3 separate regions of the Homo sapiens genome follow, and all the other regions are linked to region 2. Evidence: promoter capture Hi-C in human tissues and cell types (Jung and others, 2019). All regions are on one chromosome and are shown on one strand. Each heading gives the region's core, a stretch centred on a gene start or on the middle of the fragment in contact. The rest is flanking DNA. Distances are from core to core; before and after follow the strand shown. Region 1 overlaps NUFIP2 (nuclear FMR1 interacting protein 2). Region 2 holds the start of MYO18A (myosin XVIIIA). Region 3 overlaps NUFIP2 (nuclear FMR1 interacting protein 2).

What was found. Contacts are between HindIII fragments. The study calls those that stand out against the background at their distance.
Region 1: a contact is called between a fragment that was not itself captured here and the fragment with the promoter of MYO18A in region 2, in 2 of the 25 tissues and cell types used here (hippocampus and mesenchymal stem cells).
Region 3: a contact is called between a fragment that was not itself captured here and the fragment with the promoter of MYO18A in region 2, in 5 of the 25 tissues and cell types used here (aorta, dorsolateral prefrontal cortex, hippocampus and 2 more).

The regions. Positions count from the first base shown.
Region 1 is chr17:29,256,325-29,259,583 of GRCh38, forward strand. It overlaps NUFIP2 (nuclear FMR1 interacting protein 2), which reads right to left. Exons shown (of 4, transcript NM_020772.3): 4 at 1-3,259. Among named protein-coding and RNA genes, the nearest start is that of CRYBA1, 11 kb to the left of the region's middle. The HindIII fragment of the contact is 3,214 bases long and covers 1-3,200 here.
Region 2 is chr17:29,178,903-29,182,006 of GRCh38, forward strand. It overlaps MYO18A (myosin XVIIIA), which reads right to left and starts at 1,496. Exons shown (of 42, transcript NM_078471.4): 1 at 1,411-1,496. RefSeq lists silencers at 1,170-1,219, 1,340-1,389, 1,355-1,575. The HindIII fragment of the contact is 14,487 bases long and covers 1-3,104 here.
Region 3 is chr17:29,279,963-29,283,394 of GRCh38, forward strand. The region is part of intron 2 of NUFIP2 (nuclear FMR1 interacting protein 2); the gene reads right to left. Among named protein-coding and RNA genes, the nearest start is that of NUFIP2, 12 kb to the right of the region's middle. The HindIII fragment of the contact is 8,027 bases long and covers 1-3,432 here.

The sequences.
Region 1 (3,259 bases), core at 344-2,843, 78 kb after region 2:
GACAGATGCGGAAGAGGAACCATAGCCATCTAAAATGATGCTTGCTACACTCCTGCATTTCTGCCTTTTAAGGCCATGCAATTAATATGGGTCACCTTTTAAGTCTTAACTGGATAACTTAGTTTTTAACTGCCACTATCAATGAAGATACATATAGAAGGGTTTTGCTGTGTCCTCAAAGGCAACAATATACTTGATGAAGAAGTAACCCTCTTCTGTATATTGAAAAAGCTATAAAATGGAAATATTTATTTTTTATGTAGGAGCATGGGGAAAATGCTATCAGTAATATCTTCTACTTAAACATATTAGCCTCTCCTACAAAGGTCCTGAACCAATTAAAAAAAAAAAAACTTTAAAAAAGATGATTTGACAAAACCTGGGTAGTAGTACATCTACACATTATAAGTACACATACACAAAGTAAAGCTATTTAGTACATACAGATTGCAGCACTTGAACCAAATGTACCCAACTCCTAAACTTGTTCTAATCAGCTTGGGCAATTTTTTAAAAGATACACGTTATCTTTAAAACAACCAGTGCTTTGATCTTACAAACAACTGAATAATTCTAATCTCAAGCCAGTCAATTCAGTAAACCAAATTTATGCTAAAGCAATAAAGGTAAAAGCCTATCCTACCTTTAAACCAGCTTTAAGACAAAAAATCGTCACCAAGTTCCATATGACAAAAAAGGGTCTTTCAGTTTGAATTACTTTCCATTTCTATTTGATCAAATAAACCAAAATATTACTAAGGAAGAGCATCCAATGATTTGTAAAGCTGATAAAACTGCCCTGTTTCAAGAAAAGCTCTTTAATAGATACAAGTCAAGCTCTCGTTTAAATTGAACTTTATTAAAATAGGTGCCAGTTTTCCTCTCTCCTAGTTCCACTGATGAGCTAGCCCAGAACTATGTAACTTTGAGCCAAGTTTCCAAAGATGGTAAAGCTAACAACAGCAAAGTAGTAAGGACAAATCGGTCACTTTTGGTAATGACACACAAATTAAACTTTCAAAACATGTGCATAGCTTTATTCATCTACTTAGATCTAACCTTTTCACGGAGCTTCGGCAAAATTCGAGTGTGCAAAATGCATTTCTAAAACGTAATGCAAGCAAAGCTTTCACATTTACACTGGCAGGAAATACAGAGAGAAACTAACAAGTCACATTAGGGAAAATTCAGATCTTTTTTTTTTTTAATGACAAGAATTGCACAGTTTATTATTTTGAGACAATTGTTGCAGACATAAATATTTAAAATTTTCTAAGCAAGGTGCTTTTAACAAAATTTTTAAAGTTGGAAAGAGCTGATAACTTGGATCATAGCTCACACAGAATTCCAAATTAAAGTGGACTCCATTATCTCCCTATATTTTGCAAACAATGCTTTGTATAACACTTCTTTAAAACACTAAAAGAGACAGCAAGCTGAAACTTTTTTCAAAGCACACAAGAAATGTTTACTTGAAGAAGGTGCTGAGGGGAGAAGGGAGTGAAGAATCCTTTTACTATTTCCCACTACAGGACAGCCACTAACAGACTAAGAACAAAAAAGATACAACAAAAAAAGTAAATCACTTCCCCAGCTTATAAAATAGTTCCAGTTTCGCAAGATCTGTAACTTTAAACAGAGAGCACCAGTTGGGCAATAGAATGAGCATTTCATACTGCATAAAAATTAGTGAGGTGGTAAGAACCATCGACTATCTCAGGCATTACTACATGGCGTTTCCAATTTTTTTTTTTTAATATACATGCAAGGCACATTGATATAAAAATAGATCTCTGGCCAACAAATATATTAAATAAGCAAATTAAAATTTTGGCTTTGCGATATTGGCAACATCAAAATATAACCAGATAGCTTTGGCCCACACATCTTTCTCATTCCTCCACCTCATTTGGTGTTTCCCACCCATTATTTTGGGTTCAATCACCTTCAAGTTTGGGTATGTGCTTGAGAAATGACTTTTCTTCTTGTCAAGTAGCATTCACTAAAGTTTTCCTTTGCTAAGTAAAAAGACAAGAGAAACAGCTGGAGTTTTGATTGATTTGATTTAAACTAAATCTGATTGGTTCAGGGCAGCACTATTTCCCCTCTATATACAAACAAAAAATAAGTCCCCAGCTTACATAGACAAATGTTTTCTAAAAGATCAGCAACAAATCAATGACACCACGTCCTTTAAGCCATTCTTCCCAATTCCTCTTTCTGAGGCAGAGAGAGGGAATAATAGAAACAAAGCTAAGATTTAAACTATTTTCAGTAGTAGAAGACATTTAAGGCCAAAAAGTGTACTATTAACAGAATTCTTATATTCCTAAGTTATTGTCCTTCATAGGACAATATCAGCTAAGAATTAGTTACTTGTATTGATTCCCTCCCAAAAAGAATTTTATAATTCATTCACTCTTGTTAGTGGCTGTGCTACAGGAAAGGTATCAAAGCAACCTATGGTATATGTATGGTATATAGTAATGTAAAAAGTGCATCACATTCTTGATTTTCAGTTTCTCATAGCAGCAGGATTAATCTAAGACAGAAAACAGTTGTATTTTCATTCTTAAAATGCAACAATATCTAATGAAATGTATTCAAGATCATGAAAGGATCCTCCTCTATGAAGGATAAATGAAAACAGATTAATAATAGACAAACAGGGTAAACTAAAGGCATTCATTCATATTTACATATTAAAACCACTTTTGTTAACACCAAATCTTTACATCTAGCAAAAGAAATAAGCATTTTAAGAATAAAGCAGACATCACTAAAGCAGTATCCATTTTCAGAGCCTTTGATTAGCACCTGAGGAAAAAAGGGTACATGGAAAGCTATGTAATTTGCCCTCAAGTTAATTTGTTGGTCTGAAGAGTACAACAACTTTGATATGCACTGAAAGTAAAACTAAATTGGAAAATAAATGTTTGTAGTTAGTTTAATAAGGCTGTAGAAAAGAGATACTTGGCCGGGCACGGTGGCTCACACCTGTAATTCCAGCACTTTGGGAGGCTGAGGCGGGCAGATTGCCTGAGGTCAGGAGTTCGAGACCAGTCTGGTCAACATGGTGAAACCCCGTCTCTACTAAGAATACAAATTAGCCAGGTGTGGTGGTGTGCGCCCGTAATCCCAGCTACATGGGAGGCTGAGGCAGGGGAATTGCTTGAACCAGGGAGGTGGAGGTTGCAGTGAGCCAAGATTGCGCCACTGTACTCCAGCCTGGGCAACAGACAGTCCGTCTCAAAAAAAA
Region 2 (3,104 bases), core at 246-2,745:
CCCTTCCAGCACACCCCAGTGCATACACACTTCCCAGAGCTCACTTGCCACAGGGGCACTGATGAGGCCTTCTCGGCCACAGACACGCCAGGGGCTCCAAAAGACAAGACGAACCCACACTAACTAGCCCAAGTCATTGGCAGGGTGAAGCAGGGAGGGAATCCAATTCTTTAATTCGGGGTGGCCATCTGAGGGAATGAAAGCCCTAGCCAGGACAGTCCCTCTCAGGAAGCATTCCCCCAGCCCTCCCCACACAAATACAAACTATGAGGCCAGCGCCAAACACATGCCCCATTGGCAAAGTGGTCAGGCAAAATGAATACCCGCTCAAAAACAAACTGGCTGTCTTCCTCCCCATCTCCCCCACCCCCCACCTCTAGCTCATTCTGGCCGCAACCTTTCCAACTAATCAGCAAGACACATGTGCCTTGCAGTAGGGCAACTCCCCCATCTCCACCCCCAAAACAAAGCCCCAATGCCTGGCCTGTCCCTGCGGGCCTTATCGCACCCAGGAACATGACCCACACTCCTGGCCGGGTTTGGGACCAAGGAGCGCACCCCCACTAACAAGGGGCAGGGTGAGGGGGCAGCCACCCCTACCACCTCCCCTTCCCATTGGCGAAACAACTGGCATGACAGGTTAGCAGGGCGGGGCGTCGGGGCGGTCTCTCCAGAGGCCTGGGGCAGCTTGTCCGACCTTCCCACACGCACCCCACCCCTCTGCAGGGAAAGGTGAGGTGAGCATTCAGTCTCAGGGCACAGCCTGCACTCCCTAATCCCCAAAGCCTGCCACCATTCACCCTCTCATCTTCTGTCCCAAGAGGAGGGGGCCCAGGGAAGCGGGGTCTCCATTGTTTTGCCAGCTGTCTAGCAGCTGCTCCTTTGAGAGGAGCCCGCAGTCTGCCCGGCAGTGAAAGAGTGAAGGCCGCTGGGAGGGATAAAAGGGTCGGTAGAGGTGCTCCCCTTCCCCGCTGCCTTCCTCAGCGCCCCGCTCTCTCGCTCGCTCCATCGTGGGGCCTGGACGGGGGCAGGAGAAGTCCCCCCACCCTCGAGGCTGCAGCCCCCACCCCGCAGCTCCGGGCCACCTGGGCGCCTCCAAGCCCCAAATCCCCCCACACTGAAGGCCACCCTGTCCTGCCTCCCTGCGCCCCCCAGGTTGGCTGGAAGGGCCGGTGGTTCCCCCTTCCCCGCCGCTCCCGATCGGCCCCCACCCCCGGGCGTCGAGCTCCACGGCGCCGCCAGGGACGGGAGCCGGGAGTCCGGGCCGCTGCTTCCAGGGGACGGGGGAGGAGGAGGAGGAGCCGGCGGGCCCCGCCGCCCGCCCGCCCTCCCTCCCGGCCGGAGCCCGCCCCGCCGCCCCACCAAGCCGGGCCCGCCACCGAGCGGCCGCCGCCGCCGACCGGCACTCACCGGCCACCGGAGCCCGCCCGGCAGGCAGCAGAAGCGGAGACGCGGCATCCAGCAGCCTCGGCCCGGTCAGGGATGGAGCAGAGCGCAGCGCGGCGCAGCTCAGCGCCGCCCCCAGCGACCGCGCAGGCCGAGCCGAAAGGGAGCTCCCTGCTGGCGGCTGTGGGGATAAACGCCCGGCCTGCCTGGCAGCGCCAGTGCGCGCCGCCAGACGTGGGCCAGGCGGGCCGGGCGCTGCCCTGGCAGCCTCCGTCCGCTGTGGACTCCGAAGCCCCTCTCGCTGTGTCTGAGAGAGGCCCTGCCTGGAGTTTCTGTCTGCACTGGGCACTGGAGGCTGTCCGAAAAGGGTCCGAAAGGGGCTGAGTGGCACTGCCTAGGACAGGCACCAGGGTCATGATGAACGTATAGAAGAGGGGCTGTCCAAGGCAGGCACCGAACTCTGCAGGCTGTGTTCAAGGTAGTGCTGTCTAAAGGAAGCAATTAAGTCTTACTGGCCGCCTCCTCCCAAGGTGGCTCTGCAGAGGCACACACAGGGCCCTGCTGGATGGTGCCCCAGGCTCAGTCCAGACCAGGTACTGCCTGCCATGTCCGAGATGGCACTGCCAGAATGCACTCCCCAAGGTAAAAACAGACTCCCAATAGCTTGGTCTGATACAGCCCTGCCTCAAAATGGAGTGGATCAAGAGGCGTACCAGGGCCCGGGAGCCATGGCTGTAAGTGCCACTCACTCCCTAAAGGAGTTCACCAATGCCAAGATTAACACTTTCAGAAGCTCTTTGGAATGCAGTCTGTCCCTGGGTCCACTGTGTGCTGTAAATATCAAGTGAGCTGCTGTACCCACCAAGAAGACAGTTTATACTTCCTGGGAGAGGCCAAGGGACATCCAGATACCAGGCCTCCAAGATAGGTGCTATGTCTAGAGTTTGGAGAAAGAAAGAAATGGGGACACTTCCCTGGGCAGTGTCCATGCTGGAGTGGGGTGTGCCAGAATGTGGAAGAAACTGAGTGGGGTGGTGCAGGAAGAAGGGTGTAGCAGACAAATGCTGCTACCTCCCTAGACAGCCCAAACAGGAACTTCTCCAGGCAAGGGCAGCCCAACCTGACAGACCAGGGAAGGCTGGAGCAAGGAGGCTCAGAAAGCAGAGAGTTGAGTAAGAGTTAGGGAGTTCCTGAGGAATAGACCCAGGCGGGATACACATTTTGGAATAACATGCAACTCAAATTCAATTTAACAAACTGCCTGCTAAGTGCCAAGTGCAGCCCCAGGCACTTGGGGTGACACAGAAGGAGATCAGACATGGCATATCTCCAGGGAAATCACATGGGGAACAGGTAGACCTGAGCTGTGACAGTAGTAGGGTTCACCATGCTGGCATTACTTGGATGATGAGATAGGTGCTATGATGGGAGGCTTATTTGGCTTGAGGAGTGAGAAGAGCAGCTTCAAAAACATGACATTTGAGGCCAGGCATGGTGGCTTATGCCTGTAATCCCAGCACTTTGGGAGGCTGAGGTGGGCAGATCACTTGAGGCCAGCGTTCAAGACCAGCCTGGCCAACATGGCGAAACCCCATCACTACTACAAATACAAAAAATTAACCAGGCGTGGTAGTGCATGTCTATAATCCCAGCTACTTGGGAGGCTGAGGCAGGAGAATCTCTTGAACCTGGGGAGCAGAGGTTGCAGTGAGCGGAGA
Region 3 (3,432 bases), core at 122-2,621, 100 kb after region 2:
CCTGCACCACTATGCCTGGCTAATTTTTGTATTTTCATAGAGATGGGGTTTCGTCATGTTGGCCAGGTTGGTCTCAAACTCCTGACCTCAGGTGATCCACCCGCCTCAGCCTCCCAACGTGCTGGGATTACAAGTGTGAGCCATGTCCGGCCCCAGCCTATTTTTAAATGAATATTCCAAAATGTCAGCATTTCAAATGCTTCATATCCTTCAGTGCCATAACAGCCATGTAAGACAGATCAACCCAGTTTAAATTGGCACTGTGACCAAACACACAACTCATATCAATTATTATTTCCAAAGACTTGGCTTCAAATGACTTTCAACCATTTCAAAATCAAAAGTTTACTTCAAAAAGTTAGGATCTAGTGTTCAAAGCTTTTAAAGTCAAGTCAAAGAGAGGCTTGCTAAGCATTCTGAGATAACTACTTTTAAGAAGGCACAGTTATATGTCCCAGGTATGTACACTAAGAGCCATCACAAGCTAAGCATGGTGGCTCATGCCTGTAATCCCAATACTTAAGGAGGCTGAAGCAGAAGGATCACTTGAGGGCAGGAATTCCAGACCAGCCCAGACAACATGGGTGGTAGCGCAAACCTATGGTCCCAGCTACACAGGAGGCTGAGGCGGGAGGATTCCTTAAGCCCAGGAGTTCAAGGGTGCAGTGAGCTAGGATCATACCACTGCATTCCAGCCTGAGTCACAGGGTGAGACCCTGTCTCTTAAAAAAGAGCCATCACAGCCAGGTGTGGTGGCTCATGCCTGTAATCCCAGCACTTTCGGAGGCGGAGGTGGGCGGAGAACTTGAGGTCAAGAGTTCAAGACCAGTCTGGCCAACATGGCGAAACCCCGTCTCTACTAAAAATACAAAAAAATTAGCCGGGCACGGTGGTACATGCCTGTAATCCCAGTTACTCGGGAGGCTGAGGCAGAATCGCTTGAACCCAGGAGGCAGAGGTTGCAGCGAGCCAAGATCGCACCATTGTACTCCATCCTGGGTGACAGAGTGAGGCTCCGTCTCCAAAAAAAAGAAAGGAAAAGAAAAGTTAGGACAGGCATGGTGGCCCACACCTGTAATCCTAGCACTTTGGGAGGCTGAGGCAGGAGGATCCCTTGAGGCCAGGAGTTCAAGACCAGCCTGGGTAAAATACACAGACACCGTCACTATATGTATATATACATATATAAAAAATACAAGAATTAGCTGGGCAGCCGGGCACGGTGGCTCATGCCTGTAATCCCAGCTACTAGGGAGGCTGAGGCAGGAGAAATCACTTGAACCTGAGAGGCGGAGGTTGCAGTGAGCCGAGATCACGCCACTGCACGCCAGCCAGGGCGACAGTGTGAGACTCCATCTCAAAAAAATAAAAATAAAAAAATTAGCTGGGCATTGCGGTGCACACCTGTGGTCCCAGCTACTCAGGAGGCTGAGGCAGGAGGATCACTTGAGCCCAGGAGCTCAAGGCTACAGTGAGCTATGACCACACCACTGTACTCCAGCCTCAACAACACAGCAACACCCTGTCTCAAAAAAAAAGAGAAAAGTTAATGGCATAACATATTATATAAAAAGCTAAAAGAGGCCAGGCATGGTGGCATACACCTGTAGTACTAGCTACTCAGGAGGCTGAGGAAGGAGGAGAGCTTCAGCCCAGTTCCAGGCTGCAATGAGCTACGATAGTGCCACTGCACTCCAGCCTGGGTGACAATGAGATCCTGTCTCTTTAAAAAAAAAAAAAAAAAAAACAGCTAAAAGGAAAATCCCACACAAGGAATTAGAATCCACACAAATCCCGCCACCCCCCACCCTTTTTTTTTTTAGAAGGAGCCTTGCTCTGTCGTCCAGGCTGGAGTGCAGTGGCACGATCTCAGCTCACTGCAACTTCCACCTCCCGGGTTCACGCCATTCTCCTGCCTCAGCCTCCCAAGTAGCTGGGACTACAGGTGCCTGCTACCACGCCCGGCTAATTTTTTGTATTTTTAGTAGAGATGGGGTTTCACTGTTAGCCAGGATGGCCTCGATCTCCTGACCTCGTGATCCACCCTCCTTGGCCTCCCAAAGTGCTGGGATTACAGGCGTGAGCCACCGCACCCAGCACAAATCCCCTTTTTATGCTCTATTGTATCTTTACTTCATACCCTCAATTGTACTTAACACTCAAATTTTTAAAAATCCATAGTACGCTTAAGGTTCCAAGTAATTGCTTAATCTAAAAACTTCCTGTATTAAAAAAAGCCCTTGCCAGAAGCTGCCGCCATGCACTTGGACTTCCCAGCCGCCAAAACCTTGAGTCAAATAAACACCTTTCTTTGTTGGGTGCAGTGGCTCACACCCGTAATCCCAGCACTTTGGGAGGCCAAGGCAGGTGGCTCATGAGGTCAGGAGACCAGCCTGACCAACACGGTAAAACCCTGTCTCTACTAAAAATACAAAATTAGCCAGGCATGGTGGCGTGCACCTGTAATCCCAGCTACTCAGGAGGCTGAGGCAGGAGAATCGCTTGAACCCAGGGGGCGGAGGTTGCAGTGAGCCAAGACTGTGACACTGCACTCCAGCCTGGGCAACAGAGCAAGACCCCATCTCAAAAAAAAAAAAAACCACCAAAAAACAAAATAAAAACACCTTTCTTTATATAAGTTAAATAAATAGTGCACCATTCTTAAAGAAGTGACATAACGCACTCTCTTACCCACTATTTCCAAATTAAGTTGCTGAAGGGCTTATTTTTGAAGTCAGGAGAAATGCAGAGAACTTCCAATTCTAAGCCCAACTTCAACTACTCACTTAGAGATTACTACTGAACATCTGAAAACTACACTAAAGCACAAAGAAAATAATACAGATGTTCTTAAAGGATATTCCAGTAGCCCAACTGATTATTACTTCTTTTAGAGTTAACTTTAAAAAAAAAAGGCTTCACTTATAAAAGATCTCCAAATATAATTCAAGTAAAGAAAAATGAGTGGCCAATGGACTGCTAATGGACCAATCAACATTTGGCAGGAATTCAAAGAACTTGCTACTCTGGAACCCAATTGAACTGAGTATTATTTATTGTTCTAGAGGGGTAAAAATTTTGATGCCAATCTGATTAATTTCCAATCATGTCCAAATACAGAACTCAAGATGACACTTTACCTACAGCAAATTTTTTCATTAATACCAGCAAAACTAAATATAACTGCACCCATATAGGGGTATTCAGCTTATATAAATACCACTGATTTCATATTCAGCTAGCCCATGGATAGGGAAAATGCATAAAGAGTAAATTCAGGTTAACATTCCAATTTAAAAATGGCCTGCAATTCCACCTAATAGAAATTGTACATAAGAACTATTAACCAGTTACCTAATGGAACATATCCTACACATTTTGTTGTTTTGTTTTGAGACACGGTCTCACTCTGTTGCCCAGGCCTGAGTGCAG